Linked DNA regions of Homo sapiens: regions 2 and 3 are each linked to region 1. The links are contacts of gene promoters, found by promoter capture Hi-C in human tissues and cell types (Jung and others, 2019). All regions are on one chromosome and are shown on one strand. Each heading gives the region's core, a stretch centred on a gene start or on the middle of the fragment in contact. The rest is flanking DNA. Distances are from core to core; before and after follow the strand shown. Region 1 holds the start of STIP1 (stress induced phosphoprotein 1). Region 2 overlaps SPINDOC (spindlin interactor and repressor of chromatin binding). Region 3 overlaps MARK2 (microtubule affinity regulating kinase 2).

Evidence for each region. The method cuts DNA at HindIII sites, captures the fragments that hold promoters and counts their contacts. A contact is called where the count stands out against the background at its distance.
Region 2: a fragment that was not itself captured here is called in contact with the fragment with the promoter of STIP1 in region 1 in 2 of the 25 tissues and cell types used here (dorsolateral prefrontal cortex and thymus).
Region 3: a fragment that was not itself captured here is called in contact with the fragment with the promoter of STIP1 in region 1 in 2 of the 25 tissues and cell types used here (dorsolateral prefrontal cortex and mesendoderm cells).

The regions. Positions count from the first base shown.
Region 1 is chr11:64,184,309-64,188,109 of GRCh38, forward strand. It overlaps STIP1 (stress induced phosphoprotein 1), which reads left to right and starts at 1,863. Exons shown (of 14, transcript NM_006819.3): 1 at 1,863-1,962. The coding sequence starts at 1,954. It overlaps LOC124902686 (a long non-coding RNA gene), which reads right to left and starts at 1,373. Exons shown (of 2, transcript XR_007062712.1): 1 at 1-1,373. RefSeq lists enhancers at 1-362, 986-1,055 and silencers at 1,176-1,315, 2,016-2,075. The HindIII fragment of the contact is 11,787 bases long and covers 1-3,801 here.
Region 2 is chr11:63,816,274-63,820,074 of GRCh38, forward strand. SPINDOC (spindlin interactor and repressor of chromatin binding) reads left to right here. Exons shown (of 6, transcript NM_138471.3): 2 at 1,532-1,861; 3 at 1,943-2,092; 4 at 2,254-2,379; 5 at 2,529-2,729. Among named protein-coding and RNA genes, the nearest start is that of SPINDOC, 4.7 kb to the left of the region's middle. The HindIII fragment of the contact is 4,226 bases long and covers 1-3,801 here.
Region 3 is chr11:63,906,744-63,910,544 of GRCh38, forward strand. It overlaps MARK2 (microtubule affinity regulating kinase 2), which reads left to right. Exons shown (of 19, transcript NM_001039469.3): 18 at 1,517-1,561; 19 at 2,134-3,801. The coding sequence ends at 2,494. Among named protein-coding and RNA genes, the nearest start is that of RCOR2, 8.5 kb to the right of the region's middle. RefSeq lists an enhancer at 718-1,391 and a silencer at 3,514-3,801. The HindIII fragment of the contact is 7,074 bases long and covers 1-3,801 here.

The sequences.
Region 1 (3,801 bases), core at 613-3,112:
AAACCCCGCCTCTACTAAAAATAAAAAAATTAGCCGGGCGCGGTGGCGCACACATGTAATCCCAGCTAACTGGTAGGCTGAGGCAGGATAATTGCTTGAACCCAGGAGGCAGAGGTTGCAGGGAGCCGAGATTGCCCCACTGCACTCTAGCCTGGGAGACAGAGCGAGAGTTTAAGACCAGCCTGGACAACATGGCGAAATCCATCTATACAAAAAAAAAAACAAAAAAAAAAAACCCAGAAAAATTAGCTAGGCGTAATGGTGCTTGCCTGTAACCCCAGGTACTTGGGAGGCTGAGGTGGGAGGATGGCTTGAGCTCAGGAGGTTGAGGCTGCAATGAGCTGTGATGGCGCCACTGCACTCCAGCCTGGGAGACAGTGAGATTCGACTCCGTCTCAAAAAAAAAAAAAAAAAAAAAAAAAAAAAAGCAGGCGGTTAGATTGCACAGGCCCTGAACCCCATCCTAAAGCCTCCAGCACTTTCAAGTGAGGGATTACCAGGTTTGCGGATCTGCTGCAACTTGGCTGCAGTGTCCAAAATGGGTGGGGCAGGTGGAATTAAAGATGAGGCTGTGGAGACAAGCTACTGGCAGAGAGGACACACTTTAAACCCTGGGAAGATATCATTACCCAGAGAGGGGGAAGGATGAGGACACTGCAGAGCCCAACATCATCGCCAGACCCGAGTCATGCGGCTCCTTTGTTCCAGGAACCAAGGCTGACCCTAGAAGCAATAGCAGCATTTTCACTCCGCAGGTGCATCTCTTCCACGCTTTGGGGTGCCTGCCCTGCCTCCGACTTCTGGGGCTGGGATTTAAGGCCCTACCAGGGCACAGCTCGCCAGCTCACAGGCGGTCAACTACTGATTCAGTTCTTCGTCTCCTTCACTCCTTTACATCGGACTCACGAGGGCTGAGGGGCAGCTCCCTTTCGTTAAGTGCTTCCCGCGTGCTCAACACCGCACGAATTCCCCTCGGCCCTACAGGACCAAACGACCGGCGCGCTGAGAAAGGGTGTGCGGTTCCACTGAGGACGCCCAAGCGGGACAGCCGGGCCCGCCGCGGTGAGATCCCCGGCCTGTCCAGCCCAAGCCCAAGCGCCCTCGCGGTCACGTGGCATTTCCGGAACATTCAGAACCTAACAGCCAGGAGGCAGGAGGGCCGGGCCGAGGCCGGAGCGCTGGACAACGCGGGTAGCTGGCGCTCGAGGGACAGGCAGCTCCCACCGGCTAGGACCCCCATCCCGATGCGCGGGCGAAGGGCTGGGGCCCTGTGCCGCTGGCGATCCCGGGGACCGCCTGGAACTCGCGGCACTCGGGAGCGAGAGGGAAAGCAACCCAGAGGCCCCGCAGCCGCCGGCGACACAGCTACAGACCCCGACTGCAGCCGGTACTCCCATATATCAGGGGCGGGGCGAAACCCGGCCTTTTGAAGGGCAGCGATTTAAACCAATCAGCGCAAAGAGTTGGCAACCCTCCGCCCAATTGGAATCGCTCTCATTCTGAAGGCGGTTCCGACATGGAGTCCGGCAGCCCAATGGGAGAGGTGGAAATTTCCAGAACGATCAGAACCAATGGGCGCGGCCAGCGCGGCTACGATTGGCAGTGCAAAAGACCAATCCGTGTCGCAGAAGTTCGCTCCTCCCTCCATTCGTGGAGCCTGAGATGGGTGGGTTTATAGAGGAGCGCCCAATCCTGAGGTGCGGGGGAGGCAGGGTTGAGGGAATTACTCCCCGCTGTCCAATGAGAAGGAAGTGGAGATGATGGGCTGGACCTCAAGCCAATAGTAGAGCAGCACAGACATTCCCCCTAGAAGAACTCGACCAGTGAGCAGGCGAGGAAGGGGCGGGAGCCGGGGTCCCGGTAGCTTCTAGTAGGTTCCAGAAGGCGGCGCGTGCGGTTGGGAACGCGGAGCGGACGGATTCGATTCAACGGGGTTCCGGACCGCGCTGCGCTATGGAGCAGGTGAAGGGGGAGGGGCGGGCTGAGGCCCCGAGCCTGCTCGGGGACCGGCGGTGGCCAGGCCGCGGTAGGGGGGCGGGGCGGGCGCCGGATCCAGGAGACCGGAGCTCGGCGCTGGGGCCGGACGGGGCGGCGGCGGGGAGGTGAGGGCCGCGGGCGGCGGGCGGGAGCGGGATCTTTAGCGAGGCCGGCCGCGGGGAGCGCCCATCGCCCCCTGGTTGGGCGAGGAGGGCCCGGCGGAGGCCACAGCTTGGGTGAGTCCGGCCGGCGGCGGGAAGAGGGGTCGCGACCGGGCCCTGAAGGCGTCCCGAGGGGGCGGCTGCGGGCCATGTTGGGGAGGGTGCGGGCCGCAGGGGGCGGGGTGGAGGTGGGCCGGGGGCCGGGGTCCGCACCCGCGAGGTAGCCCTCCGGGAGATCTCAGACGGCCGACGGAGAAACCGCTCGGGACTTAGCCACGAGGAACTTGGACGGATCCAGGGAGCGGGGACGGGGATACACTGGGAGTAGCCGAGGATCTTAGCAGCCTGGGATGCAGTTGGGGCAAATGTTACTCTTCTACATCTGAGAAGGTCAGGGTGGGAGAGCGTTGAGCGGGGGTCTGAGGAGCGACAGACCGACTCTACCTGATGCGGGAAAGGGAAGGGTGCCGCAAAAGTCCTTGGGACGAATTCCATCTCTGACAGTGTTTTACAAATGTATTGCGGCCCCTCCCCCTCTTTTTGTATGCTTGTGTGTGTGATTGTCGAGTGACCGAGGACCAACACTTCCGAAAGGTGGGTCTGAAAGATGGGTTTCTGACGACCCGGGGGTGGTTGTAGACAATTTACAGAGATCAACCGCTGGAAGTTATGGGCCTCTACTGAGCATTTGAGGGGCCGAGTTTGAAGCGGTTGCTGCTTCCTTTCAGTGACTTGGTTATGTCCTCAGTAGCTTGCGGTTATGAAAGGCCTAGAGGTTTTGTTCGATTTGAAGCTGTCATTGAGCTGTAATGATTCATCGGAAGAAAAAGGACAAAACAACCTCCAAGAAACCTCTACCAACCTCCGAGAAATCATCCTCCCGCTCGGGAGTACTACTGTCTTCGCTCCGGGCCCATAACACTTGGGGGTGACAATTCTGAAACTATACCTGGTATCTGGTTCTTACTTCAGGGCCATAAAACTAAGATCGCCCACACTCTCCCCTTAAATAAGACATCTCGATGGACTAGTGACTACCATCCTTTTTTTGGTGTGAGCTACAGAGCTGAGCCTTTGGTCTCTTGTAGCAGTTGCTGCTTTAGGCAAAGCTCGAGCTTCCTTGCTGTATTAAAAAGAGTGGAAATGAAGTTAGTAAACTTTTTTGTGCCCATATAATATTTCAGTTGTATCTAGGGTTAAATGGGCTGTAGTATAGGTGAGGAAAAGATTTCTGGAATAAGACGTTGCTCTTTTACCTTTAAGAAAGGATCTGGGGCCGGGCACCGTGGCTCAGCCTGTAATCCCAGCACTTTGGGAGGCCGAGGCAGGCGGATCACGAGGTCAGGAGATCGAGACCATCCTGGCTAGCACAGTGAAACCCCGTCTCTACTAAAAATACAGAAGAAAAATTAGCCGGGCGTGGTGGCGGGAGCCTGTAGTCCCAGCTACTCGGGAGGCTGAGGCAGGAGAATGACGTGAACCCTGGGGGCAGCTTGCAGTGAGCCGAGATTGCGCCACTGCACTCCAGCCTGGGCCATAGAGCGAGACTCCGTCTCCCTCCAGCCTGGGCCACAGAGCGAGACTCCGTCTCAAAAAAAAAAAAAAAAAAAAGGATCTCGGCTGGGCGCAGTGGCTCACGCTTATAATCCTAGCACTTTGGGAG
Region 2 (3,801 bases), core at 627-3,126, 370 kb before region 1:
AGGGCCAGGGAAGCAAAAGAAGAACCAACAGAAGGTCATGCCCTAGACGCAAGTGATGAAAATCAAGATGGAAGAGGTGATCGGCAGAGGATGAAGTTGAGAAACTGACCGCAGAGTTTAGCACTGCTGACTTGGATGAGAGCTGTTTTGGAAGACTAGTAGGGAAGAAAGCTGATTGCAACTGAGAGGTCATTTCTGCCCATGGTCGCATGAGAGATAGGTACAAGACATATCTCGTATCTCTTTCAGACACCACCTCTTGTATCCATGCAAGCCGAGGCTCCTATTTCTCATACCACCTCTTCCATGCAGCCCCCAGGTATTAGGGCCTCCTGTGTTTTAATTTTGTCCCATCCTCTCTGGAAGGTAGGAGGGAGATGCAGCCGTGAAGGATCATGGGCACTTCGTAAAAGCACTGAGCTTCCAGGCTGATGCAGGTCTAAGGCTGCCTTCTTTGCTGAACTGGAAAGGGTGATGCCCTGTGAAAGCTTATGGTCTGTCTGTGTACACAAAGAGCAGGTATCAGGCAGCAATAGGAGTGGGACCATGGCTGTAAATGCTCTGTGAGCACTGAGAAGGGAGGCGAGTTCTGAGGGGATGGGGTGGCCTTTAGAACGGGCATGGTGGCTCATGCCTATAATCCCAGCACTTTGGGAGGCTGAAGCAGGAGGATTGCTTGAGCCCGGGAGTTCACAACCAGCCTGGGCAACATAGCAAGACCCCATCTCTTAAAAATTATTTTTTTGTTTGTTAATTAGCTGGGTGTGATAGCATGCATCTATCTGTAGCCCTAGCTACTCAGGTGGCTAAGGCTGGAGGGTCCCTTGAGTCCAGGAGTTGAAGGCAGCAGTAAGCTATGATAACACCACTGTACTCCAGCCTGGGTGACAAAATGAGACCCCCATCTTTTAAAAAAAAAATTATTAGCCAGGCATGGTGGCGCTCACCTGTAGTCCCAGGTGCTTGGGAGGCTGAAGCAGGAGGATCGCTTGAACCCAGGAGGTCAAGGCTGCAATGAGCTGAGATTACGCCATTGCATTCCAGCCTGGGTGACAAAGTGAGACTCTGTCTCAAAATAAATAAATAAAATTTAAAAATTAAAAGAATTTACCTTCCTCATCCTCAAGAAAGTGTAGAAGTCAGATTTGGATGAAATCTATTGTCAGGGATTGGGGTTCTGGAAAGCTTCGCAGGGATGATGTTGCCCAGCCCAATTAGGGTGGTCTGGACAGATGTGCAAAGGCTGGAGACCTGCAAGAATGCAGCCTGTTGGGAAAGTATGTGTAGTTAGTCCTAAGGTCCAAGACTAGATCAAGAGGAAGTATAGACGCGAGAGTCGTGGGATCCCGGGCACATCGGCTGTGTTGAGTGTGGCGTGTGCCTCATGGGCTCCAGGGGAAGGAAGAAGAACACTTTGGCCAGAAATGCTCTCCTCCCCCATCCCACTCAAACCACTGAGTCTGGAGACGTGCTAAGTGTTGTTGGTTGTGGGCACCTTTAGTGATAACACCCTCCCCCTCTCCCCTCGCAGTGACCCAACAGGAGAAGACCCCACCGCCTAGACCCAGCCCGCTAGAGGCAGGCAGTGATGGCTGTGAGGAGCCGAAGCAGCAGGTGTCTTGGGAGCAGGAGTTCCTGGTGGGCAGCAGCCCAGGAGGCAGCGGGCGGGCACTGTGCATGGTGTGTGGCGCTGAGATCCGGGCACCCTCGGCCGACACAGCTCGCTCGCACATCTTGGAGCAGCACCCTCACACCTTGGACCTGAGCCCTTCTGAGAAGAGCAATATCCTGGAGGCCTGGAGTGAAGGGGTGGCCCTCTTGCAAGACGTGAGAGCTGAGCAGCCGTCCCCACCCAACTCAGGTAGTTGGTCCTGGGGCTGGCGAAGGGAGAAGTCGGACTTGTTGGGGCACTAGAAGCTCATTGTGCTCTTGCTCCCTGCAGACTCGGGCCAGGATGCCCACCCAGACCCAGACGCCAACCCAGACGCTGCCAGAATGCCAGCCGAAATCGTCGTTCTCCTTGACTCTGAGGATAACCCATCCCTCCCTAAAAGGAGCCGGCCCAGGGGACTCCGCCCCCTCGAGCTTCCTGGTTAGTCAACAGAGAAGCCAGTGAGCCCCGGTGGAGGTGGGGGTTTGGGGACAGGGTGAAATACAGGCCCTGTGTTCTGGGCAGGTATCTTCAGGAGCCCTGGGGTGGCAGGGTTCGGGGATGGCCTCTTTAAAAGGGTATGAGGTCTTTTCTTTTTGCAGCTGTCCCTGCCACAGAGCCAGGAAATAAGAAGCCCCGTGGTCAGAGATGGAAGGAACCCCCAGGGGAAGAGCCAGTCAGAAAGAAAAGAGGCAGACCTATGACCAAAAACCTGGACCCTGACCCAGGTGAAGGGGAGGCCCGGGGGAGGCGTGGGCTCTGGCCGCAGTGCTCTGAGGAAATCCGCATCAGTGAGGATGGAGCAGGGCCTGGGCGCAGGGCGCCTGCAGCTCCTGAGGCTTTTTCACTCACAGTTCCATCCCGTCCTCCCTTCCAGAGCCCCCATCGCCAGACTCGCCCACGGAGACTTTCGCAGCACCAGCCGAGGTCCGACACTTCACTGACGGCAGCTTCCCCGCCGGCTTCGTCTTGCAGCTCTTCTCCCACACCCAGCTCAGGGGCCCAGACAGCAAGGACTCACCCAAAGACAGGGAAGTGGCAGAAGGAGGCCTTCCCCGGGCGGAGAGCCCCTCTCCAGGTGAGCCCTCCTGAGAGGGAAGCACAGTAGGGACCTCGCAGGCAGCGCTCCTGGGCCAGGCCTCAGAGAGGCTGCTCTATGGCAGAGCCCACAGTAGGGGTGGGTGGGGTGGGTGGGGTGGGTGGTGCTCAGGTTTCCTGGTACACGGGGCCGGGGCAGGGGATCTGAATGATGAGGAAGGCTGGCCTGAAAGCTGAGCTTTTCTTTTTCTGTTTGTTTGTTTTTTGAGACGGAATCTTGCTCTGTTGCCCAGGCTGGCATGTAGTAGCACAAGCCCGGCTCACTACAACCTCTGCCTCCCAGGTTCAAGCAATTCTCCTGCCTCACCCTCCCTAGTAGCTGGGATTACAGGCGTGCGCCACCATACCCGGCTAATTTTTGTATTTTTAGTAGAGACAGGGTTTTCCCATGTTGGCCAGGTTGGTCTCAAACTCTTGACCTCAGGTGATCCAACTGCCTTGGCCTCGCAAAGTACACCACGCCTGGCCTATTTTTTTATTTTTTATTTTTTGAGACAAGAGTCTTGCTCTGTCGCCCAGGCTGGAGTGCAGTGGCGCGATCTCGGTTCAGTGCATCCTCTGCTTCCCAGGTTCAAGCGATTCTCCTGCCTCACCCTCCTGAGTAGCTGGGATTACAGGCGTGTGCCACCATGCCCAGCTAATTTTTGTATTTTTAGTAGAGACAGGGTTTCGCCATGTTGGCCAGGCTGGTCTCGAACTCCTGACCTCAGGTGATCCACCTGCCTCAGCCTCCCAAACTGCTAGGATTACAGGCGTGAGCCACCGCACCTGACCAGGTGGGCTTTTCTTAGTGTTTCCTTGTTTCCTGGAATTGGTCACTGGGTCCGGGTAGGCCAGTGTTTCCCAGAAGCCTGATACTGATTTCCACACATGCAGTTTGTTCTAGCTAGAGCCTGAGGGGTGCCCACCTTACCCTGGTGGAGCTGAGGCCCAGATGGGGCCACTCAGCAATTCAGTTAGGTGTCCAGAGAATAGATAAGATGAGCAGTGGACAGACACCTCCAGGGGACACCAGCTCAGTAAATTGCCTCATAACAGCAGTAAGTGCTTGT
Region 3 (3,801 bases), core at 614-3,113, 280 kb before region 1:
TTAGGAGCTTTTGTCTCACAAATGGAGCACAGCACCCCCTCCTGGCAGCTCCTGCAGAACTAGCCCCACCCACCCGCACCCCTGCCCCAGCACCCCTGCCACCAGCAGCATCTGGATAAATCAAGCCTCTTCTCCTCTAGGCTGTTTTCTCCAGATATGGCCTGTCTCTTCCAAAGTGCGGGGAGCTGGGACATTCTAGGGCAACGGCCATTCTACCCCAAGCCGTAGCAAAACAACAGGAGATCTCTGCACCCTTACTCAGGGGTCTCCCTTCACAGTCCCCTTCCTGGCTCTTTCACCCCTGGCCTTATGCTCATCCTCTCTGCAGGCCTCGGGGACCAAATACCAAGCTGAAGACCAAGGGCCAGGTTAAGAGTGCTTGTTCCCCAAGGCTGTCTGCTCAGGCCCTGCATTGGGACTGGGATGCCTGGCAGGCACATTGGTGCCACAGCTGATGGAGGAACGTCCAGACAGGGTCTTCAGGCTTTCCCTATCCCCTCCTCCTCCCACCCAGCTGTTGACTGCATGACTGGCTGCTGCCTCAAGGGGCCCCAGCAGGGGGCTGCCCCACAGGGGGTCTGGAGAGAGCAGGGAGGGTGCCTTCCTCGCACAGCCGGGCTCCCTGCTCGCAGTGCGCTTGTGTGCACCCCTGTGTTGGTTGTGTCTTCCTGTTTATTTCTATGTGCTGCTGCTCTTCCTCCTTCCTCTCATATCCTTCCTCCTCTGCAATCCCCAGTTTCCTAGCTCCAGACACCCATCTTCCAGCCAGGAGCTGGAGAAGCCGCTCAGCGGGGCCAGACCTCTTCCCCACCCACCCAACCAAGGTGTCTGCCCTGCCCTGCCCCACCCCACCCTCATCCTCCCTGCGTATGAGCAGATGGCCTGGCAGGCCAGCAGGTAGGGGAGTTGGGAAAGGTCGGAGGAGGCCGCCTTTTCCACTCAGCAGCAGGAAGCCATCCCCAGGTGCCTACCATGCAGACCCAGGCCTTGGCACTTTGAGTCTCCTGACAGGCCCTTGCGTAGCCACGGCCCCTCCTCCTACAGAGATTCAAAGCATTGCAGCCCCTTTCCTCCAAAAGGACTGCAGTCCTGAGACCCTAGCGTGTGGCTCCAAAAACGCACTCACACCTGCAACCCCCAGAACAGCGCGTGAGCCCTGGCTGTGGGGGAGCAGCCTCGTGCCGGGCCGTGTGCTCAGTGTGCTCAGTGAAGTGCGTGCACAGCCACTCCCCCTCCTCCCCCAGAGCAGAGGCTCCTTCTCCCCGGCACAGATCTGGGAATGTGGGGAGGGACAAGCCCCATGTGCTGGGCTCCCTGCTGGAAAGGAATGGTTGAGCCGCCAGTGTGAGGTGCTGCAGAGCCCTGTTGGCTTGCCAGGTGATGGGCAGAGGGCCCTGGGCTTGGGTCCTGCCCACCCACTGGTGGCACCTCCCCAGACCCACTCTCATCTGGGTCTGTGGCGGCGGAAGGAGCGAGAGATCCCAGCACTAAACTCTCCCTCGCTCTGTTTTTTGAGGAACCTGAATGAACCTGAAAGCAAAGACCGAGTGGAGACGCTCAGGTGAGAGGGCTGGAGCCAGCACTGGCCCTGCCCGGGCCACCGGGCTTGCCACAGCCTCCTGCTCCTCTCTTCCTTCTGCCACTTGGCTCTTCCTCCCGTGGTTCTGCCCTGTCCCTACCCTCTGGGGCCTCCCTTTCCTCAGAGAGTTTCCCCTTCCCAAACCCAATTGCAGGAGTTACGGGCCCTTCTCCTCAGGTCTGGTATATTCTGGAAGTCGGAGTTCTGGGTCGGGTGGTTGGGGCTACAGATTCCTACCCCTGGACTATCCCACCTCCCTGTGCTCGGAGGCTTCTTTCTGGAGAGAGAGTCTGTGCTCGTGCTGTTGAGGGCACTGGTGTCTTCCCTGACCCCACCCCGCCTACCCCAAGGCTGGCTTCTCCTCCCCTTCGCTGTCCTGAGAGATGGGGGTTGGAGGACTGCCACCCTCCGCCCCCGCAGGCCAGGGGCCACGCCTGGCTGCTCCTGCTCCCTCCCGCTCTCCTCTCTGGGCTCAGGGGCTGTCTGCCAGGGTGGCTCTCCTGGGGTGGGGTGCCTCAGCCCCCCCGTGACGCCCGCCTCTGCCCTCTCCACAGACCTCACGTGGTGGGCAGTGGCGGCAACGACAAAGAAAAGGAAGAATTTCGGGAGGCCAAGCCCCGCTCCCTCCGCTTCACGTGGAGTATGAAGACCACGAGCTCCATGGAGCCCAACGAGATGATGCGGGAGATCCGCAAGGTGCTGGACGCGAACAGCTGCCAGAGCGAGCTGCATGAGAAGTACATGCTGCTGTGCATGCACGGCACGCCGGGCCACGAGGACTTCGTGCAGTGGGAGATGGAGGTGTGCAAACTGCCGCGGCTCTCTCTCAACGGGGTTCGATTTAAGCGGATATCGGGCACCTCCATGGCCTTCAAAAACATTGCCTCCAAAATAGCCAACGAGCTGAAGCTTTAACAGGCTGCCAGGAGCGGGGGCGGCGGGGGCGGGCCAGCTGGACGGGCTGCCGGCCGCTGCGCCGCCCCACCTGGGCGAGACTGCAGCGATGGATTGGTGTGTCTCCCCTGCTGGCACTTCTCCCCTCCCTGGCCCTTCTCAGTTTTCTCTTACATGTTTGTGGGGGGTGGGAGATTGTTCTCCAGCACCCCACATTCACCCCTGCCCAGAGATTCCCCCTTCTCCTCTCCCCTACTGGAGGCAAAGGAAGGGGAGGGTGGATGGGGGGGCAGGGCTCCCCCTCGGTACTGCGGTTGCACAGAGTATTTCGCCTAAACCAAGAAATTTTTTATTACCAAAAAGAAAAAAGAAAAAAAAAATCCCAGCGGCCACCTTTCCTCCCTGCCCCATTGGGACAGTCGAGACTGGATCTGTGGGGTTTCCCGGGAGGGTGGCTCAGGGCTGGAACACTCTCAGGCAAGAGTGGTGGAGCTCCCGTCAGGCCCTCCGCCAGGCCCACTGTGGGCTTCTCCCCTCTCCTCCCTCCTTCCCCTCCAAGCAAACCACCAGAGGTGGCCTTCCCCTGACCTCAGGCCCCTGGGCTGGAGGCCTGGGCGGTGGGGCAGGGGGCGGGGGTGCTGCGCAGCCCTGCAGTGGGTGGGGCTGGGGGCTGCTCCGGGGCTGCTGAGGCTGGAGGGCCGGCACAAGGCTCCGCCTCCCTCCACACTGTACCCTCTGCCCCTCCTCCCCAGAGCTGGGCATTTCCTTCCACAAGCTGCTGTGGGGACGTGTGTTCCCTCAAAGTCTGTGCCATCTTCTCCCACCCCTCCCGGGTAGAAGGAGGGGCTGACCCCAGGGCTGGGAGAGGGGAGGGGACTGGAGGGCAGACTGGCTTCTCGGTCCCCAGGGGGCCGCTTGGGCTGTTGGTCTCCAGAGCAGGGCCACTGGGCACTCTGTGATGGGGGAGCCTTTGTCTGAAAGCACAGCCCCCTCGCCCTTCCTCTCCCCATGGCTTCCCCTTCATTGGCATTAATCTGGGCACCAGCTCTCTCCATAGCAGTGACTTCCCTCACCACTCTCATCTCTCAGCCTTGCCTTTTCTTCCTGACACTGTCGCCCCCTCCTCTCAGGAGACACTGCCGAGGGCCACCTGGCAGAAGGCTGAGTTAGGCAGCAGGGCCGGGAGCGTCTGCCCTCCACAGGGTGGGGGACAGATAGGCTAAGCGACTCCCAGCTTGCTACCCTCAGTGGCCAGTGTGGGCGTGGGCGGTTTGGGGCGCTTGGCTGGTGGTGGCCACTGCATCCCTTAATTTATTTCTCTGCTGTTT